Regions from separate parts of the Homo sapiens genome. Here regions 2 and 3 are each linked to region 1. The links are contacts of gene promoters, found by promoter capture Hi-C in blood cells and fetal thymus (Javierre and others, 2016). All regions are on one chromosome and are shown on one strand. The core of a region is centred on a gene start or on the middle of the fragment in contact, and the rest is flanking DNA. Distances in the headings are between cores, read along the strand shown.

Region 1 (3,915 bases), core at 487-2,986:
TGCAAATACAAAATATGGGAGAAATAGTAATGTAACAGATTTGCAAACCAATAATTTGGGGTTAGCTTTTACACAAGTTTTTCTATTACCTTTGAGAAAGATAGATAATGGGAAAAGAGAGCACGCAGAAAGTAGGCCAAAAGAAGTAGGATCAGAACATCAACTTCCCAGAACTGTGGAGAGTATTCTGGATTCATTTGAATTGAGCAGTGCCTGGAATCTCTTCATCCAACCAATATATGCCATTTTTTCAGTAACACCAATTTAATTTTGCTCTTCTATATCTTCCTAGTTCAGTGGAGAATATCATGTTATAGAAAAAGGTAATGATAACTTCATTAGCTGAAAAAAATGTGTTTCTATTTTCTAGGGTTGGAGAATTTGTCTTTGAATTATTTAAGCTGTATGACTATCTATTTATCTGTCTATCTATCTATCTAAATATATACTTAGATGATGCTTAAACATGCACAGAATTACACTTGGCTGTACACATATACATCTAAGTAATTTTTCTATTTCTATATTCCCATTCTTTTCTCCCAAAACGCCAGATATAAAAATATTCCATTAAAATGACTGTATTTTCTGATTGAGAAATCAAATTCCAATGCAGTCACAAAATATGTTTATTAGTGGGTATACCACTAGCAATAAAATACTACAAGATATCTTTTAGTTTTTTTTCTCCTGGGTCATTCATTTTCCAAATCTTCCTAGCTTCTAATTCTAATGAAGCAGTTACATTTATTTCTGTCTCTACATACAAGGAGAAATTGTTCCCATTGTCAAATAAGCTGAAGAAAACCTTTCTTTCCTCCCTTCTCAGCAGCATGGGTGTTGGGCTCTACCTTAACATTTGAAAATATTTATCCTTCTGTCCTAACTTCCATCACTGCCATTGAGTGCAATTGGTATCACTGAGCTCACTAATTTGGGACAGGAATAATGATGCTAAAGCTCTTGTTAGAGGAATCATTAGGGTTTAAAAAAATCTACACTTGATGGCCTGATTGTACTATTAAGCTAGGATATCCTATGTGTAATGTACAAGTAATTAGGGTGAATAGAGTGATTTTAGAGAGACTTGCTCTCAAAGATTGTAGTTGTCCTTGAAAAAATATAAAGGTAAAAAGCAGTGGCATCTTGTACAACAAAAGGAAAGCCACAAGAAAGATTATATGCTAGCTATTTCTTTATTCTCTTTCTTTTATGAAGTCTTTACATTCTGATAAGTTTCCTGTGACATCTAGAGAACCAACCACAGTGAATAGTCAATAACAGGAAGTAGATACCATGCCTTTATGAAGTTGCTGCTTTAAACTGGAATGCCAGTTCTCTAGCAGAACTACAGTGTTCTACAGGACCGATGACACTTAAATGCTTAGATGGGAGATAACTTCTGATGAGTGTGATTACACACGCTTAGGTCCTCTGATTTGCCAATGGCAGTTGAGGAGGCATCACTTCCTTGCATGGCGTTTGTGCACAATTTATGTTTGTACCCGAGGGCAAGACAGGTTAATAAGGCCAAGAAGGAGGGGAGGCTGTGGGAGTGGGTAATAACTGGGGAGGACTTCACAGCATCAACCTGGGGGAAAGGGAGGAGGGCTGAGGATGAAGGGTGTTCCCTCCTCCTTCTGCCTATGTGTTAAGTGGCAAGAGAAATTTTGAAAGCTGCTGTGAGGAGGAGCTACTGACTGGGTTTTGGGGTGTTTTGTACCCCACCCTCCTCACTTGTAGGAAAGCCTCTTTGCATTTAGACGTAATTGAACTGGAAGGAAGGAGACTGGCCAGGGAATAGGGGGAAAGAAATTCTCCCGTTGCTCCTCCTACTGTTTATCACTTGCCTCCGGACTGTCTTCCAAACCAAGCTCAGCTGCATCAAGGTGGCAGCAGAATACCCTGTGCAAGTGCCAGCGTCTTCTTAGCCGCTCTGTGCATCCCAGGCTGCCCTGTTATCTGGCCACCGTCCCTGGCCATTGGGACTGCTTCTGATGGCTCTGGCCTCTGCTGCCCCAGGGAGCATCTTCTGTAAGCAGCTCCTTTTCTCTCTCCTGGTGAGTAACAACCAAAGGATTAGGGAATTCAAGCATGTTACTACCTGCTTCCTCTCTGCAGTTTGGGCTTGAAAGAGACTAGGAGTGAGGATGGGAGGCAGAGAAGAGAGATTGGGGAAAACAAAAGCAGATCTGAGGAAGATTCAGGGAAGAGTTGAGAGGCTTGGGATTCAGGATGGAAAGTGTTCAGCTTACTTCTCAAGCACCCACTGCCAGAGTGTTAAAAGTTTTCAAGGGAATCCCTCTTCCATCCTGCTGTGGTGATTTTCTAAGAGTAGAGAAGTGAATTCATTCTTTAGGCATTTGGCCCAGAAGTTTCTGAGGTTTACTTCTGCTACCAGTGATTACATAAACTCATGTTATTTAACATGCTGAGTTCTACTAAGCTGCAAAAAAAGAGAAAGGATTCTGGGTGAACATGCAAATTATCCAGGACTTTTTGAATTTTACCCACGAAGCAGTTTAAGCAAAGAATAGTTTAAGAAAAATAACAAAAATGTGACTGTCATTGAAAATATCCTCAACTTGGCTTCCACTTGGGTTTTTAATAGCTTTGTAACTGTGTAAGGTGCTATTTTTTCTTTGGAGGTGAGGGAAGAGAGGGGGGTTATTTCACACATCCGTCCATCATTTCTGAGGTGTGAGTTTCCTATTTTTTCATTTTAGCAAAATACTTGAGTTTCAAAATATATTTTTAGAAATGGCAGGTATGAGGACAAACATTTTCTCCATGTAAATAATATACAATGCAGGGTTGATGGTCACCTTCTCATCCTGTAACTGCTTAGGGAGACGATAACTCAGATACCATCTTAAGTTAGTACAAGTTTGGTAAAATGTGGTAAAAATGTTTCAAAGGATTCTACCCACATTTCTTTTGCTTCTGATCCCTGTACTGTCTAATATCTCTTGGACAATTCATCTCCTGTTTATTTATTTCTGACTCTGAAACTGACTAAAAGGGTGTCACTAAGCCACTTAGTCAGTGATTTAACCTGAAGACGGGAATAGTATTTAATGAATGGAAACCTTCAGTGGCTCTGCCTGCAGAGGGAGGACCATCAACATGGAATCCTAGGACAAGAAGGAAAGAAGATGGGGGTGGGAGTGGAAGTGTGGATATAACTATAAGAATGTCTCATATATTTATATATATATATGTACATTTATATATATATACACACACGCACATATACAGTCATGCTCTGCAAAACAATGCCTCAGTCAATGATGGACTACATATATGAGTGGTCCCATAGATTATAATGGAGCTCGTCTGTATAGGTGAACCATTTTTTATCTTTTATATTGTATTTTAATGTACTTTTTCTATATCTAAAAATGTTTAGTTACACAAATACTTACAATTGCCTACAGTATTCAGTAGAGGAACATGCTGTACAGGTTTGTAGCTTACAATAAGCTATACTATATACTATACACCTAGGCTGTACCATGGTGCATACCATGGGGCATACATATATAAATCATGGTGTATACCATGTAGGTATAACCCAGGTGTGTAGTAGACTATATCCTCTAAGTGTATGTAAGTATACTCTATGATGTCTGCACAAGGATGAAATCACCTAACGTTGCATTTCTTAGAATGTAAGCAATATATGACTGTGTGTATATATATACACACATACACATACATATATAGGTATAGGTATATGTACAGGTATATGCATATGTATGTGTACATATGTATATGTATGTGTTTATGCATAGCCTAATTACAATATGCTGTTTCCACATTGTATACTTAGACAACTATTAACAGTATGGTCTATGCTTAGAAAGTTCTTTAAGTATAATTTATTATGTTCCTTGGCATTAGGGATGAACATAT
Region 2 (3,915 bases), core at 739-3,238, 210 kb before region 1:
CTACCTCCCAATTCCAGACACTATTAATTGATATGGTAAGGGATCTTTTAGACAAGCATAAAGAAAAAAAATACTTAAAGAACTTTTTCACAATTACCGTGAAATGTCAAACACAAAGACTTCAATATCAATGAGGAGTAGGAGGAATTAAGTATTAAAAACGCTAGTATTACCAAGGAAAATAAATAAATACTACCAAAAAAAGATCCTGAGAGTCTGAAGTATAATACTCTTTCAAGATCAAGGAGAAGAATCAACTCTTCAATTAAATAATATTATCATAAATCATGCCTGTGCAGAAGGCAATGGGAGGCAAGATTTAGTGCTCAGAAGTGGCCTCTAAAATCTTGACACATACAATTTTCCTTACAGAAAACCAAAAGTTTATCTGAGTCAAAGCATGAATATACTCGGTAGAAGAGTAACAAGAGGTATATCCTCATAACTTACTATTTCAATTGAAGACCAAGTCCGATTCTTGCCTCTTCTTTTAGTAACATTTATTTTATTTAGTAAATAAATAATGATCATTGTAACAGAATATTGCCCTTCGTCTTATGTTTTTAAGTTTAAAAATATTTTTCAAAAATGGTATTGTTTAATAATCTGTCTCCTAAACTCAGAGGATGCAATATTCTACCACTGTTGTCACGTTCCCTTTTGAGCTTGGGGTTGTGTGCCCTTTGGCAGTGTTCGGCTCCCGCACTGCTCTTGAAGTTTAGAAATGTGAATTCCAGAAGAGTAGCTCTCACTGTGCCTCTTGGACAATGACGTGCTCCCATCTCTCCCAGCCCTAGCTACTCTCTGTCTCTTACAACTGATGTTCAGAGGAGTCTGGTATAATTGCCACTTGCCTAAGAATAGGATGGGAATCACTTTCTAAGCTTAGGTTGTAGCGCTAACCTGGATACTCCTGGGAGATTGAAGTGTGGCCAACTATAATGCATTTGTCTTAATTTACTTTGAAAAATTTGTACAGTTCCTAATAATCCTGTCCTCTTACCCTCCCAGAATTGGCAATAGTTTGTTGATTGGCCAACTGGAACTTTGTTCTTCTTTGGAGTTGGAATTATCTCTTTCTAGGGTAGGATATTTGCTATGCATGCTGCCTGTCTGGAAATCATGTCACACCTTGGGCACCCAAAGGTTAGAGGAAAGAAATATAATATCCAAGATGCCATGTTTACTGTAAAGAAATAAGTCATTTAAATATTTCTTTGCTGGTCTGTAGGAATGCATTCATAATTCCAGAAAAGTTTTGTCTTGATGGCTGGGCTTCATTTTTCTTTAGCAATATCTGACTGGAAAAAGTTCTCATGACTTTAGTATGTCATCATTAGTTGCAATGTAATTTCAACATGGCTATCATTCCTCCACTTTGAAAGAAACTCATAGGGAAATAACTATTGAAAAGAAATGGGTTTGATTAACTTCCCTTCAAATTTAGAACCCATTTGCACTGGCAGTTTTCACAGCAATCTATCTGATTTATTTATATGATCATAGAATATGAATTTTATTTCCAATTTAAAATTTTAGAATAGTCCTAACACTCAAAGTGAAGTAGATTATGTCTCTGAGGGCATATAAATTTAATTCAGCCAGATTCTCACCCCGCTTCTCTATGGCATTTTGTTCCTCAAGGCGGAGAGAGTTGTTTGAAATTAACAGAGGCTGGACTTCTAGAACTCTCTTTGCAGGAAGGAGATTAAAAATGGAATAAATCCCATGTAGAAAGCCCGACAGTTGACAGAGACAAGACCTTGAGGCTGCATTTCCTTCCCACCTCTTTAAATTCTACTTACCATTAGAATGATCAAAAGGCAAATGTTTCTGAAGAAGAGCCAATCCATTCCTTTGGGTTTCTCTTGCACGCAAATCCTGTGAGATTCAATTTGAGCCCTCGTCTTCTCAGTTCCGAATTCTGCTCTACAGAAAGATATGCTTTGAGACACCCTTTTAGGAGGGCATGGGTGATAACTGTGGTGATCTCTGGGCAGAGAGATGAAGATATTCTATAATGACTGTTTCCCCACCCCAAACTCCCAGGCTGGTCTGGAAGACTGGCATTGTTTGGGCTCTGGGTAAGAATTTAGACACACCTTGATTCTTATTGCAATGAAACCCTTTGTTGGACACCAAAGAAAAACCTTACAGAGCGAGGACAAGATTTACAGGGAAGATAGCCAGTGAATAATAAATTACTCACAACATAAAAAATAATTAAAATGCTAGGGCCTATCATCATGCTGAATAAAATTAGAAGGCTTCTTCTTACTGCCAACATTGTAAAAGCAAAATTACATATACTGACAACACATACACACACATGTCCACTGCAGAACCCACTTCAAGGAATGATACTTTTAGCAGAGGCCATTGTTGAAAGTCATCAGGACTCAAGTATGGTATAGGAAGAAAGATAGAATAATGACGCTCATTTCAATTCAGTTGAGTCCTGCTTCTCTCTTTAAAATGTCTTGTGGTTGAACCGCACTCTCAATTTTAAAGATTTTCTGAAATAACAAAGTTAAGATGAAGGAACTCTGATTTAACTAGTACCAGTATGTTTGTTTCCATACTTTGGCATTTTCTTTCTTGATTATTCAGTCAAACCTCTACAATATGATATTTACAAAATCATTTTAAAGTAACTACAATACAACATTCTCACTTCTCATAGTATTACCACTGATAAAAAGTACATAATGTGGGTGAGGAACACATTTTACACCACCACAAATATTTATTAAGGAGAAACTGAAGTTGGAAACGTGAGAATTTAATGAAAAAAAGCCCAGAGTGGGATCTGGATATTTTTGAATATTATTTCCCTTTTTCGTGTCTCCCTTTTCCTTTGTTAGTATGGGTTTGAAACAGGGTATAGAGTGTCCTGATGCAAACATTGCAGGCTGGCAGCAACATCAATAAACTTAAAAGAAAATGCAGTTAACTGTTCTCTGATTGATAGATAATACATGTTGGTTGGAGAATTTCAAAGGGAGACTGCCTCCTGTCTTCACTATCCCATCACTGTAATTCAGAAACAAGGTTGACCCTGGTAATAGAATGTATTCTAAGTATTGCTTAGTTTCTTGAGAAAAGTAGTTTTAGTATTTTTGGAAGCCAGATAAAGTAATTTACTTTTGCATTATTTCATGTCATGTTGAATTAGATAATTTAATTTGCCTAAGAGAATTAATGAAACAACTCCAGGTCTTTAAGTGACATTGCTTTTTACAAGGGAAAAACAACATTCTTCTCTATTGTTGTGTTTGAAGGAGATATTTCACAAAGGTCTCTATCTTTTGTTTACACTATAGATGATTTCTTCTACATATAAGATTTTTCTTATATTTTCTTCTAAATATAAGATTTTCTATCTACTTGAATGCTATTTATAGGATGAGTTTTAAAGAAAAGAAACAGGAAGCAATAGAAATAGGTACTAGATCATTTATGTGGGTACCTCTAGCTTTCTCCATTTGAAACTCCTGATTTCAATGGTATCCAGAATTTGAATCCAGATTATAATTATGAACATATTTAAAAGATTCTTCAGTAACTAAGGAGGAACTACCTGAAGCCCCATCATTTCATTTCTGTTTACTCCTTGGAGATTTGTGGGAATGATCTTTTGCTTTAAAGTTTTTTTTGGAGACAGAGTCTTGCTCTGCTTCTCAGGCTGGAGTGCAGTAGTGGTCTGAGTGCAGCTCACGGCAACCTCTGCCTCCTGAGTTCAAGTGATCCTCCCACCTCAGCCTCTCAAGTACTTGGGTTTACAGGTGCATGTCACCACACTTGGTTAATTTTAAAAATATTTTGTAGAGACAAGGTCCTGCTATATTGTCCAGGCTGGTCTCAAACTCGTGGGCTTAAGTGATCCTCCTGCCTTGGTCTCCTAAAGTACTGAGA
Region 3 (3,915 bases), core at 610-3,109, 160 kb before region 1:
AGTTCTTTGAGAAAAAATTTTCATAAGGCATGTGGGAGACTTGTGATTAATTTCAATATAAAATAAGGTAACCTCCTCTTCCCCCATTCCCAAAAAAACCCCCATAAGCCAACAAAAAAAAATCTAGGCACAGCTAGAGAAAGTTCAATAAAGATATATGATTTTGATGATGATACATTTTATTGAAGAATGACTAAATAGGAAGTGGCTGTTTAAAGAAATTTGATATGCTATAATTAATTTGAAATAAATAAATCAACAAATAAGGCACATCTTAGAGATTCTATGAAAGTTAGTGTACACCTATCTGAACAAGCTGATCAACTAAAACTATAATAGCTCTTAATGGATCAAATTTATTTGAAATTTTAAGTAAAAGTGCTTGATTACTGACAATATGAAACTCTCATATTTCAAATGACATACTGTATAATGATCAGTGATCCCTACCAAATCCTAAGTAATGAAATCAACTGATCCTAAATATCCACTGAAAAGAGCATGGGATAGGACTAATGTTTGAAGGAAAGCTTGGAACCAAAGCCACCAGCTTACTGATGCTCATTTATAACTAAATCCACTGATTATGTCCCGCCTTAGTTAATAAAACTGAATTCAAACTAACCAGCATACTTTGAATCAAAGATCTAACTTATTATACCAACCAACCCAACATTCCAGTTCAAAAATTAAGCAAGTAGAAACAAATGTGAACCACAGCACTATACATCCTGCCAAGCTGGAGGGCAATTTACTTGGCACCTGCCTTTTTGAATTACATTAACCTTACTATGAGAGAGATTACAATTTTCAAATTTTCACTGAAAGTGAAATTGACATAATACATTAGTGGTGCACTTAGTATTATCTCTACAGCAAGAAAACTAATTACATGTAAGGGGGCAATGATAAAGTATTTCATTACATTCGTCAGACGATCAAGTGCACAACTTTTATATCGCAGTCATCACTGACATTCCAGTAGTAAGATCGAGTGTAATAATAATTATACTTACTCTTTAATTATAGCCACTTCTTCACTTAATATGTCATTTATAAACCTCCTGTACTGCCGTTTTTTGAAATTAAAAATGTTTTAAATAAAATCATAGTTAAATAGTGCGGGGCTTTTTATAGTAGTGATACAGATTCTAACCAAATATGCAACTGATGACTTTATTTGGATAGCGAGACCAGCCACAAACTGCTACGATTTTAAATTATGTGGTGCTATTTTTATGTTTTAAAAATTAGAGTAATTCCACCACCAAACACACAAAAAAAATAAAAAAAAAAACAGGTTAAAAATCCAGACACACTTGTGATATTTAGTTTAAAAGCCCTCTTGCAGAAGAGATTTTGAACGACAAAGTGCTACTAACTAGCGATAGGAATTTCCTAAATTCAGTCTTTTCCCAGCATGACTTAGCAATGACTTCAGTGTCAGAGATGTAATACAATGAGTTGACACTGAGGCATTAACATGATCTTGAGTCTTCAATTAAAGAGAGAAATGCTATTGAAAAATCTAGTTCATAAAATCATCTTGTCATTAATATACATTTTCAATGGGTTTAGGTTAGAAATAATGCCCACTAACATTTTCTAAAAAGTTTTCACTTGTTTACAATGGGCACGATTATGAAGGACTTTTACCAGAATCCACTCACCAGAAAAATGAACAGCATTGCAACTACTCTGAAGAAACTCCAGTCCATCTCTGCTGGATTCTCTTACATCCAAGACCAAGGGAGTTTTGTTTGTTCTTCTCTGTTCTTTTTCTTTCTCCCACTCAGCTGGTGTCTGATTAAAATAATTTCTCAGTAGATGTTCTTACATGCAGGCTTTGAGGTGTTTCTGCCTTCCTCTGGGAGAAGGACTGAAGGTACGTATAACCAGTCTGGATCCCCACCCTAAAAACTTGGGCTGGTCTCACTGAAATGCTTGACAAGATCATCATTGCTCCCAGGTAAAAACTTGGGGACACACCCTTCCTCCAGCTGAAAAGCGACTCTTGATGGGGCAAGGAAGATTCACTCCTTTACTGAATGTTTTCAGTGGCAGGCTCTTAAAGTGAACAGAAATACCGAGGGTTATACAGGTGATGGGGGCTTCTCACCCCATGCTTTCTTTACAGGTGGTTTAGTTTCTCCCCATATTAAACAGGCAGGTATAACTTGAATGCTCATCTTATTCATTCCATTATCTGTTTGTAGCCAAACCCTCAGGTCATAGTAGAAAATGACAAACTTTCCATTTTAGTAGATGTTGGGAAAGTTTCAGTTATTTTCGGTTGTTAAGAGACAGAAAATATGCTAATGCAAGACTGAGATTTTTTAAAGTTATTAATTCAAACAAGTAAAACCATGATACTTACAATTATTAGATCCTCTGCATAAGTCACAATTCCCATTAACTGACCAGCCTTCAGTCTAAGGAATCCTCCATTTTCCCTCTAAAGAAATTATTTTCTCTCCCTAATTATTTTTCTTTCTTTATGATTCTTTTATTAAATGCAACAAAATAAAAATTTAAATATTACTAAACTTAAGGGTGAATAGTGAGAACCACCAATTAAAATCCTGATAATAACTTTAAAAATGAGATTCGGTGCCTGAAATACTAATGAAAACACAGAAAGCTGCTCAGCAGGTGAGGTGGGTTAAAAGTCAATGACAATTCCTAAGCACAGAGCCAAGAATCTGTACAGCGAGCCAATTAGAACATAGGGAATACACTGAAGAAATGGCTGCCTACACAGGTAGACGGGAAACTGAATGCAGCCCTGAGGTTTGTGAAAATAAATAGCAACCTTCACAGGGCAGCATTTGGACATATTTTTGGACTCTCTTCTCTTCCCCTGGCAACGTCTAGTATAAATATTGTGAGTGGCAGGAAGCTCATAGACACTGGACACCCTCAGAGTTTGAAACGGCTACTTAGAACAAGAGACCTACCTGATAAGATGTTGATTATGGTCAAAAAGATACTCAAAATGTCTCCAAAAGGAAGAAAATCTCTGAGGGTCAGAGGGTCTATAGAAGGCTGTCATTTCACTACAGATTTGTGGCAAAGAAGATGTGTGGTTTGAATTTCCATATTATCCATCATACAGTGTGGAGGGGAGGAGATAGGCTGCCCATGTTTATTTGCAGTGAATAAGAATGTTTATGATTGTAAATAGCAGATGTAAATAAATAAAATTTAGAAAGATGAGCTGGCCGATTTTCTCTAATGAGAAATGTCAAATAAAATAGACTGTATTAACCTATGACTTAGTCTGAGCAATATATTAGTATCATGTTGTCTGACCATGAATAGCAGAAGACTCACTGGGCACCAGAGACAACTGCACCTACTCTTGCAGCTTTCCAGTGGCGAGTCAATGTTTTATGCATCTCGGATTCTGGGCATGATGCTAGGGCATGCATGGGGGCCTCCTTCATCCATTAAATTACCTTTCCTTAAACCTAACCCTGGCTCCACCCCTAACTCAATGCCTTGCTCCAACAATCCTATATGACTAGGGGATTCATAAGGCAGCAATCTCTCAAACATCTTTCTGGAGAGGAGGTGTGATAGAACTCCAATACTGCAGAGCAGCGTCTGTCTTGGCAGTTACATGAGAGCCAATACGATGTTAAACACAGCGGGAGAGGGAATTTGTTAATCACTTTCTCTCCCTTGCCTCCTTCCCTGCCTTTTTCTCTTTCTTACTCATTTTAACGTCCTCAGAACAGTGCTATCCAGTAGAACTTTCTGCAATACGAACATATTCTCTATCTATGCTGTCAGATATGGTAGCCATTTATAATATGTGACTATTGAGGATTTAAAATATGGTTATTATGACTAAGGAAGAGAATATTTAACTTTGCTTAATTTAAATTTAAATAACCACATGTGGCTAGTGGC

The links. Contacts are between HindIII fragments. The CHiCAGO score rates a contact against its expected background, and 5 or more counts as called.
Region 2: the fragment with the promoter of DSG4 here is called in contact with the fragment with the promoter of DSC1 in region 1 in 8 of 17 cell types (erythroblasts, M1 macrophages, neutrophils and 5 more); the score reaches 8.0 in erythroblasts.
Region 3: the fragment with the promoter of DSG1 here is called in contact with the fragment with the promoter of DSC1 in region 1 in 2 of 17 cell types (neutrophils and monocytes); the score reaches 6.7 in neutrophils.

Annotation. Positions count from the first base shown.
Region 1 is chr18:31,160,677-31,164,591 of GRCh38, reverse strand. It overlaps DSC1 (desmocollin 1), which reads left to right and starts at 1,736. Exons shown (of 16, transcript NM_024421.2): 1 at 1,736-2,060. The coding sequence starts at 1,998. DSCAS (DSC1/DSC2 antisense RNA) reads right to left here. Exons shown (of 4, transcript NR_110785.1): 4 at 1,803-2,057. The HindIII fragment of the contact is 8,252 bases long and covers 1-3,915 here.
Region 2 is chr18:31,374,850-31,378,764 of GRCh38, reverse strand. It overlaps DSG4 (desmoglein 4), which reads right to left and starts at 1,988. Exons shown (of 16, transcript NM_177986.5): 1 at 1,806-1,988. The coding sequence starts at 1,853. The region is part of intron 1 of DSG1-AS1 (DSG1 antisense RNA 1); the gene reads left to right. The HindIII fragment of the contact is 4,758 bases long and covers 887-3,915 here.
Region 3 is chr18:31,316,104-31,320,018 of GRCh38, reverse strand. It overlaps DSG1 (desmoglein 1), which reads right to left and starts at 1,859. Exons shown (of 15, transcript NM_001942.4): 1 at 1,671-1,859. The coding sequence starts at 1,718. The HindIII fragment of the contact is 11,545 bases long and covers 533-3,915 here.